Regions from separate parts of the Homo sapiens genome. Here region 2 is linked to region 1. The links are contacts of gene promoters, found by promoter capture Hi-C in blood cells and fetal thymus (Javierre and others, 2016). All regions are on one chromosome and are shown on one strand. The core of a region is centred on a gene start or on the middle of the fragment in contact, and the rest is flanking DNA. Distances in the headings are between cores, read along the strand shown. Region 1 holds the start of ITGB5 (integrin subunit beta 5). Region 2 overlaps KALRN (kalirin RhoGEF kinase).

Evidence for each region. Contacts are between HindIII fragments. The CHiCAGO score rates a contact against its expected background, and 5 or more counts as called.
Region 2: a fragment that was not itself captured here is called in contact with the fragment with the promoter of ITGB5 in region 1 in 1 of 17 cell types (endothelial precursors); the score reaches 5.9 in endothelial precursors.

The regions. Positions count from the first base shown.
Region 1 is chr3:124,882,749-124,889,807 of GRCh38, reverse strand. It overlaps ITGB5 (integrin subunit beta 5), which reads left to right and starts at 2,443. Exons shown (of 15, transcript NM_002213.5): 1 at 2,443-2,877. The coding sequence starts at 2,808. RefSeq lists enhancers at 183-1,067, 1,068-1,950, 3,719-4,603 and silencers at 2,065-2,504, 2,965-3,054, 6,112-6,406. The HindIII fragment of the contact is 6,734 bases long and covers 1-5,492 here.
Region 2 is chr3:124,561,648-124,568,706 of GRCh38, reverse strand. It overlaps KALRN (kalirin RhoGEF kinase), which reads right to left. Exons shown (of 60, transcript NM_001388419.1): 34 at 5,618-5,864. All of the region lies in intron 2 of LOC105374076 (a long non-coding RNA gene), which reads left to right. Among named protein-coding and RNA genes, the nearest start is that of UMPS, 170 kb to the left of the region's middle. RefSeq lists a silencer at 3,471-3,765 and an enhancer at 3,471-3,765. The HindIII fragment of the contact is 3,603 bases long and covers 2,607-6,209 here.

The DNA of each region.
Region 1 (7,059 bases), core at 1,194-3,693:
CTTTGGCCTCAAGCTATCCACCCGACTGGGTCTCCCAAAGTGCTGGAATTACAGACATGAGCCAACGCGCTGGCCCCATTATTTATAATCACTGCCTCTCAAACTGGCATAAGAGTAGCTCCAAGGCCACTGACCTAAGAGACAGGTAGCTCCAAGATAAACCCAGGACAGCTCCTGTAAAATGTTTAGGGACAAGCGTTTTACATCAAAACAAACATGAGGATATTATAGAATATGTTAACCCCAAATATCTGAGACCAGTCTCAGTCAATTTAGAAAGTTTATTTTGCCAAGGTTAAGGATGTGCCAGTGACGGGAAGTCCTGACAATATGTACCCAAGGTGGTCGGGGTTACAGTGTGCTTTTATACGTTTTAGGGAGACATGAGACATCAATCAATATGTGTAAGACGTACATTGGTTTGGTTTTGTAAGGCAGGACAACTTGAAGTGGGGGCTTCCAGGTTAGAAGCAGATAAGAGACAAAAGGTTGCATTCTTTTGGGTCCTTGATCAGCCTTCCACTGAATACACAATTTAGTCTGGCTCAGTGAATCTGCATTTTTACATAAACAATAGGCCAGAGGGAGCAATCAGGTATTCATTTGTCTCAGGTGAGCCTCAGAGGGATGACTTTGAGTTCTGTCTGTCCTTTGTCCAAAAGGAATTTCCTGTGGGTAAATTGTGAGGGAGGTATGTAGCTTCTTAGCTATCTTAATTAGGCATAAAATGGGAGGCAGGTTTGCCTGACACGGTTCCCAGCTTGATTTTTCTCCTGGCTTAGTGATTTGGGGGCCCTGAGATTTATTTTCCTTTCACAAATACTATAAAGGAGCTTGCTATGGACTGCTGCATCTTTGCCCCCAGGCACACTATATTGTACTTCAAGAAGTTTACTTCCTCAGGCATTGAGGCACCACCTTGTTAGAGTTTGGGAGGAGGCCAAGAAATAAAGGTTAACATCCAAACTCCTTGAGCTGGGCAGTTAGGACAGTTTTCCACTGGGCCCTCCAAGCCATTCTTCCACCAGGTCCCTGGCCTGCAAAGGTGAGACCCCTTTGTTCTTTCCCCCTTACTGCTTCAGTTTTAGCCAAGCCATGCTGCACTTTTGAACGAGGCATCCTAGCTGTCACTTCCTCCAGCAGTTAACCCCTCTGTCCCTCGGTTCCTCAACTGGATAACAGTAGGGTTGTCGGAGGATGAAATGAGTTAATATGGGTAAAGGACTTAGAACAGTGCCTGGCTGGCAGTGTGCTCTCTGTACTTGGTAGGTATTCTATCGTTATTTTCCCCTACCTGAATGTCGCCTCTTCTCTTGCCTATCAACCACTCCACTCTAAACGCACTTGTAGCGAATCCAAGCCCAAGGCATCCTTTCCTGCACCATCTGAGGAAGACCCCACCCCACTCTTTATTGGCTAGTTCAGATCCAGCTTATATGTAAATGATAAGATGAAAGCCTGAGCATATGTTTTTGAGTCTATCAGTTTGATCATGGAAACTGACAGATTATCAGTAAGGACAACGAAATATAGCGGCATATTGGCCAGTCTCAAATCCTTGAAAGGTGCAAAAGTTAAAAAGTGAAAAGTGGGCCGGGCACGGTGGCTCGCACCTGTAATCTCAGCACTTTAGGAGGCAGACACAGGAGGAATGCTTGAGCCCAGGAGTTCAAGACTAACCTGAGCAACACAGCGAGACCCCCATCTCTACAAAACATGTAAAAATTGTCCGGGTGTGGTGGCGCGCGCCTGTAGTCCCAGTTACTCAGGAGGCTAAGGTGGAGGAACCTTTGAGCCCAGGAGGTCCAGGCTGCAGTGAGCCAAGACTGGGCCAGTGCACTCCAGCCTGAGTGAGAGCAAGACGCTGTCTCAAAAAAAAAAAAAAAAGAAAAGAAAAAGAAATGTAGGTTTTACTTGTGCCTCCACGCCCCACCACGCCCTCCCTTGCTCATCCAGAAGTCGCTTTGCGGTTCCACGCGCGGGCGTCTACGTCCCATCTCAGGCCGCCGGCAGTGAGGCTTTGGGAGGATGAGGCGGTACCGGCACGACCCCCGTACCTGCTCTCCCTCTCGCAGTCTAGCAACCGCCTTTGGCCCAAGTAATCTCGGCTCGCCTAATACAGCGTGCCCCGCCCCTTTCCCGTGGCGACGGGCGGCTAAGCAACGGGAGCGGGCTCTACTCAGTGGTTTCGAGCCCCCCACGCCCCAAGTGAGTCGCAAGCGACTTCCACCTGGGCCCGTAGGGCCTCCGCGTCCCGGGCCGGTCCCCGCACAGGGCGGAGCTGGCCCGGCCCGGAGCTCGCCCCGCCCCGCCTCACCGTAAGCTGACCGTGTGGCGGCCGGGCGAGGGCCTGGCAGGGGAGAGAAGGGGAGGAGAAAGGAGAGGAGGAAAGTGGAGCCTGGCGGGCCGGAGGGAGGAAGGGAAGGGGCGGAGGCCAGGGGCAGAGTGTGCCGGCGCGCGGGGGAGTCTCGGCGCTGGGCGCGTCTCGGAGCCCAAGTCGCGGCCGCCGAGCGGAGCCAGCCCCTCCCCTACCCGGAGCAGCCCGCTGGGGCCGTCCCGAGCGGCGACACACTAGGAGTCCCGGCCGGCCAGCCAGGGCAGCCGCGGTCCCGGGACTCGGCCGTGAGTGCTGCGGGACGGATGGTGGCGGCGGGGCGCGGGCCAGCGCGGGCGCCGTGAGCCGGAGCTGCGCGCGGGGCATGCGGCTGCGGCCCCCGGCCCTCGGCCCCCGCGCTCCGGCCCCAGCCCCGGCCGCCGGCCCCCGCGGAGTGCAGCGACCGCGCCGCCGCTGAGGGAGGCGCCCCACCATGCCGCGGGCCCCGGCGCCGCTGTACGCCTGCCTCCTGGGGCTCTGCGCGCTCCTGCCCCGGCTCGCAGGTAAGCCGCGCCGCCCACGGCGCCCAGAGAAACTTTGTCGCACACTCAGCCGCGGGCGGGCGTCTCGGAGGGGCGGGGAGCGCAGGCGGTGCCTGAGGGCGGAGGGCGCCTTCGGGGCACTCCCTGGTGGGCCAGTCGCTGGGGGACAGCCCCGCGGGGCGCTCCCCGCGCGCAGCCCCGCCGGGCTGTCGTGAGTCTCCTGTTCCCTCCCGGGCTGAGGAGGAGCTTCCCTTCCTGTGTAAACAGGCTGGCCGGCCTGCTGACCTAGCCCGCCAGGGCCCGCGCCCAGGGCACGGGGAGGACCGCCGCCAGCCCTGCCTTGGGGCCCGGGCTCTCCGTTGGCGGGCACAAAGCGGTCCTTGTGGCCGGCCGGGAGCGGGCGGGCTGCTGGGGGGATGCCGTCGGTGCCCTGTTCCCGGAGAAGCAAGGGAGTCTCGAAACCCCAGCCAAAGCCCGGGGCCACCTCCACTCCGGAGGGCTCGCCTCCTGGAACAGCGGGTGCACAGGGCCCACAGCGAATCCTGGAGTTCGCTGCGCCTAGGCTAGCCGCCTGCCTTTGAAGATGCAGCCCCCACCCTCCCCGCCCCCCGCCTGCTTCCTCCTCGCCTAGGCCACCGCAAACCCGAGGGGGCACCCGCGTCCCAAACCACAGCCCCACCTGGGACTTCCCTATTAAATTCCTTCTGCCCGACTTTATCCCGCGATTTGCACACGCTCGGAGCCTCACACTCCCCTAACTGTGGAGGATTCTGGAGCAGAGGACAGGGGCTGTGGAGATTGCCTTAGCCCGACGCTGCGGTGGGCTGGCAGCGTTGCAAGGATCCCTCGGTTACCTGCTCTAACTTTTCAGAGTTGGGAGATGATTGGACGTGGTAGTTTGGAGGCCCTCGAGGAAGGATGCACTTGTTTGGGATGCGGATTTTCTCCTTTCTTTTAGGAAATAATAGTGCTCTATTAACTTTCAAGCCGGAGATACTTGATTGCTCTTGTGAGCCAAGTGGTTGCCTGGCTGCCCGAAGGGAGGACTGTTCCCCCACGGTGTCTCATTTACATGAAGGCAGTGGAGGTTTAGGTTTAAGAGCGGAGGAGGGGTCTGAGCAAACAATAACTTCGTTCAGACCCTAATTCAAACTTAATACTGTAGCAAGGTTTTTGGTTTTTGTTTTAAATGGGAAAATAATCACTCCAGAGCTTGGAGAGTAGATGAGTGGATTCCAAACACCCATCCGGCAGCCAGTGCCCATCACGGATATTTTCATGGGTCCCTAGGGAAAGCGAGGAGCAGGAAGATGTAGCCTGCATCACACAGGAATGTATTGTTGTCAACGCTCCCCTGCTCCACAAGGACTTTCCTTTAGTTTGAAATTAGGCACTTTTTCTTTTTTTGGTGGGAACATTTTCTTTTAATACTTCTTAATAATATTAGTAGTTTTTAATTTTGGCAAAATAAGAAAATCTGACAACCCTATGTTAAGCTCCCCTTCTCTTTTTCTGTTTGTTTCTTTTGTTTTGTTTTTAAATCTTAGTTTTCTTTGAAATCCAAAAGTTCAGAAACTGCCAAAGGAGATGGCTTTTAAGTTCCTTTCCAGCTTGACATTCTGTAATTCTGACAAACAGAATTATAATAATAATTTCTAGTTGCAAATAATTTTTTTTTTTTGAGTCAGAGTTTCAGTCTTGTAGCCCAGGCTGGAGTGCAGTGGTGCCATCTCGGCTCACTGCAACCTCCACCTCCCAGGTTCAAGCAATTCTCCTGGCTTAGCCTCCCAAGTAGCAATGATTACAGGCGCTGCGACCATGCCCGGCTAATTTTTGTATTTTTAGTAGAGATGGGGTTTCACCATGTTGGCTGGGCTGGTCTTGAACTCCTCACTTAAGGTGATCTAACTGCCTTGGCCTCCCAAAGTGCTTCAATTACAGGCATGAGCCACCACGCCTGGCTGCGAATAATTTCTAAAAATACATTATTTTCCACTTGCATCTTGCTTTCTCTTTTTCAGAGTTCACGTACATCTTCACGGTGATGTCCATTTTCTCATATGGGCTCAGGAAGGAAGTGACTTGCCCTTCCCCTCTACTTGGGTCAGGAGTGGTGGACCAGGGACCATGGCTTTTGGTCCAGTGCCCTTTGTCCTACCGACTCAGCTTAAGGAAGAGAAAAGCACTGAGCATGGTGGTTCATTTGCAACTCTTTTGGGGTCCTGTTTTCCCATTGCCTATCTTTTCTTTTCTTTTTTTTTGAGACAGAGTCTCACTCTTGTTGCCCAGGATGGTGTACAGTGGCATGATCTCAGCTCACCACAACCTCTGCCTCTCAGGTTCAAGTGATTGTCCTGCTGAGTAACTGGGATTACAGGCATGTACCACCACGCCTGGCTAATTTTGTATTTTTAGTAGAGACAGGGTTTCACCATGTTGGTCAGGCTGGTCTCTAACTCCCAACCTCAGGTGATCCGCCCGCCTCGGCCTCCCAAAATGCTAGGATTACAGGTGTGAGCCACCACGGCTGGCCTCTGCCCATCTCTTTGACTACAGGTTTTGGTGGTGGTGGTGGTGGAGCAAGCCATGGCACTGGCCTCCAGAACTTGCTGCTTACCTCTTAGGGCCCTGAAGCTTCTCAGGATTAGCAGAGGTTGACTCACATCTGTGTCATTTCTCCTAGTTTTTCAGTGTTGCTGAATTAACTTCAACATTCTTTTTTTTTTTCTTTTTTTTTTTTGCTTCCCTTCCCTTCTTTGTTTTCTTGAAGCACTACAGGTACTTTATTCAGGGAGTGTTTCTGTCTTGCCACTAGGAACATTATTTGAAAGAAAAAAACCTAGTTACTCAGAGAAAAGAAAGAGATGACCCTCAGGGCCATGCCTGCCTGGGTGTTCCTGGACCAGTGGTTGAGTGCCTCTCTCTGTTGCTCTAACCCCACTTTCATCTCAGTACGGATTTCCAGCAGGAAACTGACCTTAGGTTTCAGGGGCTCATTTCAAACAAGTCCCTGGCCGGCTGACAACCCCCTCCCGTCCCCACCAAGGGCTATCTCCTGCTCTTTTTATTATCTTATGGCCAAGAGCCTTCAGACAGAATCCTAGGATGTGGTCTTCCCACAAAACCAGGGGTCTCACTGAGGTGAGGCTTTTCCACGCTGCCTTTGCTAAGACAGAGAGAGGAACACCGTCTTATAAAGAGGATCCTGCAACACCGCTGGAATTATGTGTGCTATCACATTCATTTCTTTTTAAAAAAGCAATCGAATGTTCTTCTAGTGAATGCTCTGCACATCCTAAGAAAGCCCTTTGTTTTATTTAGTGGACTCATGTTGGCAGCACCCTTCCTCTACCCCCAACCCCCTACCACATTTCCTGTGGTCTGTGATGGGGTTGTTGGAATTTGGCTGGGTCTGCAGCTCTCTGTAGGTAACCAGGCACAGGTTTAGAGCTGACAGGACAATGAAATACAAACAGTGGGTTTGGTCTGTAGACTGCTGTTTATCCTATGGATTTACATTTTAACTCCATCATCCTTGAGTTGGGGGAGCTTTTTATAAAGGGGATTGAGGCAGAAGAGGGCAGGGTCTAATTAGCTCTAATTAGTATTCCCCGCCTGCTTGTTCTCCATGCTTATTTAGCTACTGAGGCAACGGGGAATTAAAATATCTAAGTAGTTTGGCAAAAGGCCTTTTGTGCCTGCGTGGCCTGGTAACTACTTTTTCTTATTCAGCCTGGCCATGGAAATATTCTGAGATGCTTTAACGATATCAGTAATGTGGGACAATTACAAACTACTTAAATAATAGGGCCCCTTTCACATGGCAGTGTGCAGCTGGGTTAATGGGATAGGGTCTCTTTTCACAGGTATTTCCAGTTGGCTGGAGCCGAGGGCCTTGGAGAACTGACTGCCGTGGTTTGTTTTCCTTCTTTCCGGTTCGAATGGGATTAATGGCCTCTATAAATGTAAAGGAATGCTTTATTTAGAGGCACCCATTTGTTTCTGAGGCTTCTTGCTTCCGTTGAATGCAGGGTTTACTTCCCGGGCCTCATGGTGAAAAGTTTGCTCTAAGACAGGCTTGACTCATCCCCTAAGGCTGATGCTTTGAAGGCACTGCGGGGTACCCTGCCCTCTCTTTATAGGATTCCCTCCCCAACTCCAGCCAGACATTTTCAGAGCTGGTTGTCTCTTGTAGAGCTGGGA
Region 2 (7,059 bases), core at 3,159-5,658, 320 kb after region 1:
AAGGTTCATTCATGTTGTGGCATGTGTTAGAATTTCCTAACTTTCTAAGGCTGAAGAGTATCCCATTGTATGTATATATTCAATTCACCTGTTGCTGGACACTGGGGTTGCTTTCACCTTTTGACTATTGTGAATAATGCTGCTATGAGCATGGGTGTACAAATTTCTGCTTGTGTCCTTGCTTTCAATTCCTTTGGATATATACTCAGATGTTGGATTGCTAGATGATATGATAATCTTATTTTTACTTTTTTGAGGAATCCCATACTGTTTTCCATGGCAGCTGTACCATTTTGCATTCCCACCAGCAGTGTACAAGGGTTCCAATTTCTCCACATCCTCATAACACTTGTTATTTTCTGTGTGTGCACATTTTAAACAATAGCCATCCTTTGCAGTGACATGTTATTGTTGTTTTGATTATCATTTTCCTAGCAATAATTAGTGATGTTGAATATCTTTTCATGTACTTATTGGTCACTTGTATATCTTCTTTGGAGAAATTTCTGTTTAAGTCCTTTGTCCATTTTTAAATTTAGTTTTTGGTTGTTGTTGTTGAGTTGCAGGAGTTCTTTATATAATCTGGACATTAACCCTCAACCTTTCTAATACATCTTTAAGTATCTCCTAAGCTTGACACCCTGGGGGTGCTGAGTCCACAAAGCAGTGGTTCTCAACCCTAAGGGAACATCAGAATCACTAAGTTTGTTCTTCTTCTTTTTTTTTCCCCCTGAGATAGAGTCTCACTCTTTTGCCCAGGCTGGAGTGCAGTGGCGTGAACACAGCTCACTATAGCCCTGAACCCTCAGGCTCAAGCAATCCTCCCATCTCAGCCTCCTGAATAGCTGGGACTACAGGTGCATGCCACTATGCCCGGCTAATTTTTTTCTTTTTATTTTTTTCACAAAAGAACTTAAAAATATACTGATGTCCAGGTCCTTGGCAGCTGGATTAATTGTTCTGGGGTGGATATGAGGCATCAGTATTTTTAGAAACCTCCTCCAGGTGGTTTCTAAGGTGCATCCAGAGTTGGAAACCACTGCTACAAAGGCTTGCCTCTTGGGAGGTGCTGCCCTCCACCACCTGCTGCTGTGAAAGTGAGAGGGGCCTGTGGAAAGGCAGGACTAGGGCTGGAGGGCCCAATCCCAGTGAGAAGCCCTAAGATGTCAGAGTGGCAGTAAAGTAGCAGGAAAGGCAGCCCCACCCCAATTCTGACACACAGCCCCACTCTTTTTCACCAACCCCATCATGAATGACACCAAGACTTATCAGGAGGAAATAACCAACCACTGCTCCCACAGAAGGCAGAGGAGGGAAGGGCAGAGAGGAGCCCTAGCACTACCCAGAAGCTCAACAGGTGCTGGGAGCCCTGGTCTGCTCCAGCTTGGCCACAGACTCCCTGTGGCTTCAGGGAGGTCACCTTGCTTTCCTGAGCCTGAGTGTTCTCTTGGAAGAGAGGAGACCGGGCTAGTGCAGTGGTTCTCAACCCTGACTGCACCTTAGATTCACCTATGGAACACTTAAAAATACTGACCCTCAGGCCCCATCCAGAGATTCTGATTCCATTTGTTCTAGGTGGGGTCTGGGCATTGTCATTTGGAAAAGCTCCCAGATGATTCTCATGTGCAGCCAGCGTTGGGAACCCTGTGCTAGTGGATCATCAAGAACCATCCTGTGGTTCTTTTGTCCCCATTTCTGGGGTGATAGTCATGGCCTGAGCACTCACAAGGTGCTTAGCCCTCACACATAGTCCCTGCTTCACACAGCCTGCAAGAGTGCTGACTTGGTGCTCTCTGCAAATGCTAAGAGGACCAGTTCTCTTATGGGAATTGAAAAAGGAATTGATTCCAACCTCCTGACACCAGATGAGACCACTCTGTCCTATTCCACAACCCCCAGAGGAACATTTTATTCTCAATCTAGTTGTGCATAACTTATAAGGTAAAGCACCCACTGGAGACAAATTACTGCTGAGAGAAGAAAAGGCGGTTTGCCAAGCAGGCAGCCAGCTGGAATAAGAGAAGGAATAGCTTATTGGGTCTTAGCTAAGGCCAACACTCTGGGCAGACCCCAGAGAGACAGGGAAAGGGTTTTGAGGCTGGGCTATGTGCATAACTGCACACACTTTCAAATGGGGTCTAGTTAAGGGCATAAGGAGTGCTCCATGGAGAATGCAGACTTAGGTCCTTTTTTTTTTTTTTTGAGACAGGGTTTCACTCTGCAACCCAGGCTGGAGCACAGTGGTATGATCATGGCTCACTGCAGCCTCAGCCTCCCAGGGTCAGGTGATCCTCCCACCTCAGCCTCCTGAGTAGCTGGGACTATATAGGTGCACACCACCCCACCTGGCTAATTTTTAAATTTTTTTTGTAGAGACAGGGTTTCGCCATGTTGCCCAGGCTGGTCTCGAACGCCTGAGCCTGAGCAATCCACCTGCTTCAGCCTCCCAAAGTGCTGGGATTACAGGAGTGAGCCACTGCGCCTGGCCGACTTAGGTCCTTGACTGTTGGGAGTCGGGGACCTCTGTATTCAGAGCTCACATGGGTGAGAAGATAGTAAGACCTCACAGGATGCCATTTGAAAGCTCAGCATAATTGGCCTAAGCTTGGGGAAACAGGAACCAACCTGGAAATAAAAAGCCAAAGAAATGGGTGATAGGCACTGCTGGTACCTTTAAGAAGCTATGCTGGTTGGCAGAATTAGCTGGAAAGTTCTATGACAGCCTCCCTCCCAGCTTTGTCTCTTGCCTCTATTTTCCATTCCTGGTCTTCATCTCCTATTTTTAGTTAAATCTCCACTAATCTGTCCTATAGTCGAGACAACCCCCAGTCCTGTGCAATTCTTACCCTGAATGCTTCCACCTCCCACTTCGGGATCACAGATTGACTCTGACACTGCTCTCTGGCTTTCCACCTTGGGTTTGCTCCTGCGAAGTTGCACATGTGGCAGCCCCAGCAGGGAGGGAGTGCACATTTTACCCAGCCTCAGGCTAGGAGGCCAGGTCTAGGTCAGGAAGTCTCATCTTCCCTTGAAGCTGAGTCCCTCCTGATGAAAACGACCCACACCTGGGGATCCAAGGAACGTTAGCCTTTTGCGGCAAATGAATTGCTGTGCTTGATTTTGTCTCTGCAGATGGGTCTCTCAACTGGACTTGTGGGAGTGTGTAGTTATTTTGCTGGATAATCTATGGCAAATGATATAATAGCAAAAACTTATCATGACAACTAAAGTGCATTGAATGCCAGGCACTGCTGTGTTTTGTCTCCATTACCTCATTTTACCCTCACAATCTACCTTCTGTGTACCCTCTTCTCCTCTTGGCTAGACTTCAAGCGGAACCAGATTCCTGAGTTTCCTTGATTTTCCTCTTGTGCCTGCAATTTCAAATTCCCACACAACTTCCTGACACAGTCCCTCCTTAGTCCTCAGAGGACAGGGGGGAAAGCAGGCAATGATTAAATTGGGAGTGGAGGGCACGAGGAGAATTAGGACGTCGGTCTTAGCTGACATTTTTCTCCTGGTGGAAAAAACCCTGGAAGGCTGGATGCAGCACAAACAATTCAGCCTGCTGCTGCCATCTAGTGGAGGAAAGGAAGTCAGGCTTTGGAGGTAGACCAGATGGCACTCCAGACACCGGAGTGTTTTAAATATGTTCTGAGTTCACAGTTAACCATCAGGAAGCCTGCAGCAGGTCTCCATGCTGACCCTCGTCCCCATCTTCCTCTCCTAGAAATATCTAGCACAGGTCTGCATAGAAGGCATGCCTGCTGCTGATTATCTGGCCAGTTACAAAAATAAGCCCAGAACTAAGGCCTGGCTTTGGCTTCCTCAGTGTAAAATGCTTGGCTGCAAGGCCTCTGCCACTTGGACTTCACAAGTCAGTGGATCTCAAACTCAAATGTGCATCAGAGCCACCTGGAAGGCTTGTTAAAATACAGACTGTTGGGACCCACCGGCTCTGGAGGAGTGGGGGTTCTGATCATTTGCGTTTCTTTCTTTTTTAAAATTAAATTTAAAAACACTTTTTGAGGCAGGACCTTGCTCTGTCACCCAGTCTGGAGTGCAGTGGTGCAAGCATGGTTTACTGTAATCTTGTCTTCCCAGGCTCAAATGATCCTCCTGCCCCAGCCCCCCACTGAGTAGCTGGAACTATGGGTGTGTGCCACCATGCCTGGCTAAAATTTTTTAGTTTTGTAGAGATGGGGGTCTCACTATGTTGCCCAGTCTGGTCTCAAACTCCTAGCCTCAAGCCAGCCTCCCAAAGTGTTGGGATTACAGGTGTGAGCCACTGTACCTGGCTTTTAACTTTGATTTTTTATTTTTAGAGGTGCGGTCTTTCTCTGTCAGCCAGGTTGGAGCGCAGCGATGCAATCATAGCTCACTGCAGCCTCAAACTCCTGGGCTCAAGTGATCCTCCTGCCTCACCATGCCCTGAGTAGTTGGAACTACAAGTGAACACCACCTTGCCCAGCTAATTTTTTTTTTTTTTTTTTTTTTTTTTTGAGACGGAGTTTCGCTCTGTCGCCCAGGCTGGAGTGCGGTGGCGCGATCTCGACTCACTGCAAGCTCCGCCTCCCGGGTTCACGCCATTCTCCTGCCTCAGCCTCCCGAGTAGCTGGGACTACAGGCGTGCGCCACCATGCCCGGCTAATTTTTGTATTTTGCCCAGCTAATTTTTTTAATTTTTTTTTTTTTTTTTTTGAGACAGAGTCTCGCTCTGTTGCCCAGGCTGGAGTGCAGTGGCACAATCTTGGCTTGCTGCAGCCTCATGGCAACCTCAGCCTCTCGGGTTCAAGTGATTCTCCTGCCTCAGCCTCCCAAGTAGCTGGGACTACAGGTATGTGCCGCCTTGCATTTTTAAATTTTTGTAGAGACAGGGTCTCACTAAGTTGCCCAGGCTGGCACCTGCATTTCTAACAGGTTCCCAGGGCATGCTGATATTACTAATCCAGAGACCACCCCTAAAGAAACACTGTCATGAGGAGTTTAGTCTCCCTGGCATGAGAAAAAGTGAGTAAACAGGCATGTGAAGGGAACACAGAGCTTACATACAATAAAAGCCAAGGCTAGAATACTTTATCTGTTGAAGGCACATAAAGGAGTCATGGACCTCAAAGCCTGGCTGGGCTGAGGGAAGGATCAGATCTGACTCAGCTGTGGCTCCTCCCTGGGTGTGCCTGGTGTCTCCAGGTCAGCATGTGAGTACTTGGTCGGGGGTCAGAGAGCCAGAAGTTGCTGTGGAGCGGGAGTGGGTCAGTGGAGAAAGGATGAGTCTAAACCATATTTGGCCAAAGGTAGAAGAGGACTTTCCCGAATGTAGTGTGATATGATGGGAAAACTGGAAGAGATCTTGGAGGTTACTTAATTCAACCTTCATTTCCAAGATGAAACTGACTCAGGAAGGCTAAATGACTTTCCCAAAGTCACACACAGTTACTCGGGAGCTCTTCCTCTCCAAGTTCCCAACCCATTCTCTTCACAGTCAGGTCCCAAAGAAACCCCACAGGGTAAAAATGGGTCTGTGAGACAGGTCACTTCCATGGTGGTCTTCAGCTAGAGTCAGGCCAGCGCTCATGGCCTCCTTGGTCTGTGCCTCCCACCCGCTCTGTTCTCCTACCTTTCACCAAGGGGAAGAAGCAGTCCATCTCCACGCTGCTTCGGGAGTGTGAGATGCACAGGGCGCTGCTGGGGACCAGACCCTCCAAGGGCGGGCTCCGTTCGGTGGTACGGACCAGACACCAACCAGGCCGCTCGCTGGGCCGCTCCAGCAGCTCTACCGTCTGCCCCACCTGGATGGTCAGCTCACTGCTGTGGCCCGCACTGAAGTCCTGGAGGACCACTGTCAGCTCACATCCACCAGAGAGCTTTGGAGGGTGGTGGTGGAGGGAGTAGAACAGGAGGGCATGGAGGAAGGGGGGAGAAATATGGGAGAGGGTTGGTGAGAGGGGACGAAGGATGTGTGAGAGCAGAGGTAAGGAGGAAGAGAAGGGGAATAAAGAGGAAAAATGGTGTTTAGGGCAGAGAGATGGCAGAAGATGAAAAGGAGAGTTGAGAACAGGAAAGAAAACAAGAAAAAAATGTAATTAGCACAGTGCTATTCAATCACTCAGGCTTTCTAGCTGTAGCCACAGTCTGAAGCCTGCCCAGAACCAGGGCTTTGATTCTAATTCCTCTTACTTCGTTAGAGCTCATTATTCCTTTGCCAAGCTTCAGCTAATTGTGCCGTTAAACCCCTTCCCTATATGCCCCTTTACTCCTTCCAAGGGTTCTACCCTGTGCCCTGTCCCTGCCCTGACTACCACCCTCAGACTCCTATTGTATGGGCATCTATTCTAACTCACCCCTCCCATTAGATTCTCACTAGATGATAGGGAATAATGGAAGAGACAGCCTTCCTTCCTTCTAACCCCTGCAACACCTCCCATCCCCACCCCTTACTGGAGCCATCAGCCTAAAATCGAGGCTACGAGGACTACAAAAAGAATGGGGCTTCAATTCAAAGGCAGAAGTAAAGCAATGTCTGTCTGGGAGGGGAATAGCCTCAAAGGCTCAGGCACTGGGGACCAGGAGGAAGAATCAGAAGGGAAGACGGGCCACTTCTTACTTAGGAGCATACGCCCAGCCCTCATGCTCCATGCTGGCTTGTCTCCACACTGGCATCTTCCTAATTCACTGATCCTGGGGCAGAAGCAATAAAAGGGGTTGACAGGAACAACCCCTACTGGCTGAATGCTGAGACTTCTCACTTTTTCACCTTGGGGATTTGGCCCCACTTCCCCCCTTTCTTCTGGCTTCATATTTCCATGAGAATCCATTCGGTTATTAGTTTGTCTCATAGAACTAAGTACAGTCTCCCTCTTGGAAGAGCAGCTGCACTTAGAGGCAGAGTGACAGGTAGGGAACGGAAGGAATGAGGAGGCTGAGGCCCAGCTTGGTAGCCTGTTATCCTCTAAAGTTCACCCCAAAAGCAGTTTGGAGGCAAAGTCCTTGCACCACCTCCAGGAATTCGACTTCAGTCTGTGCATCTCTGATTTAAGCCTTCAGGGCCCAAATTTTCTG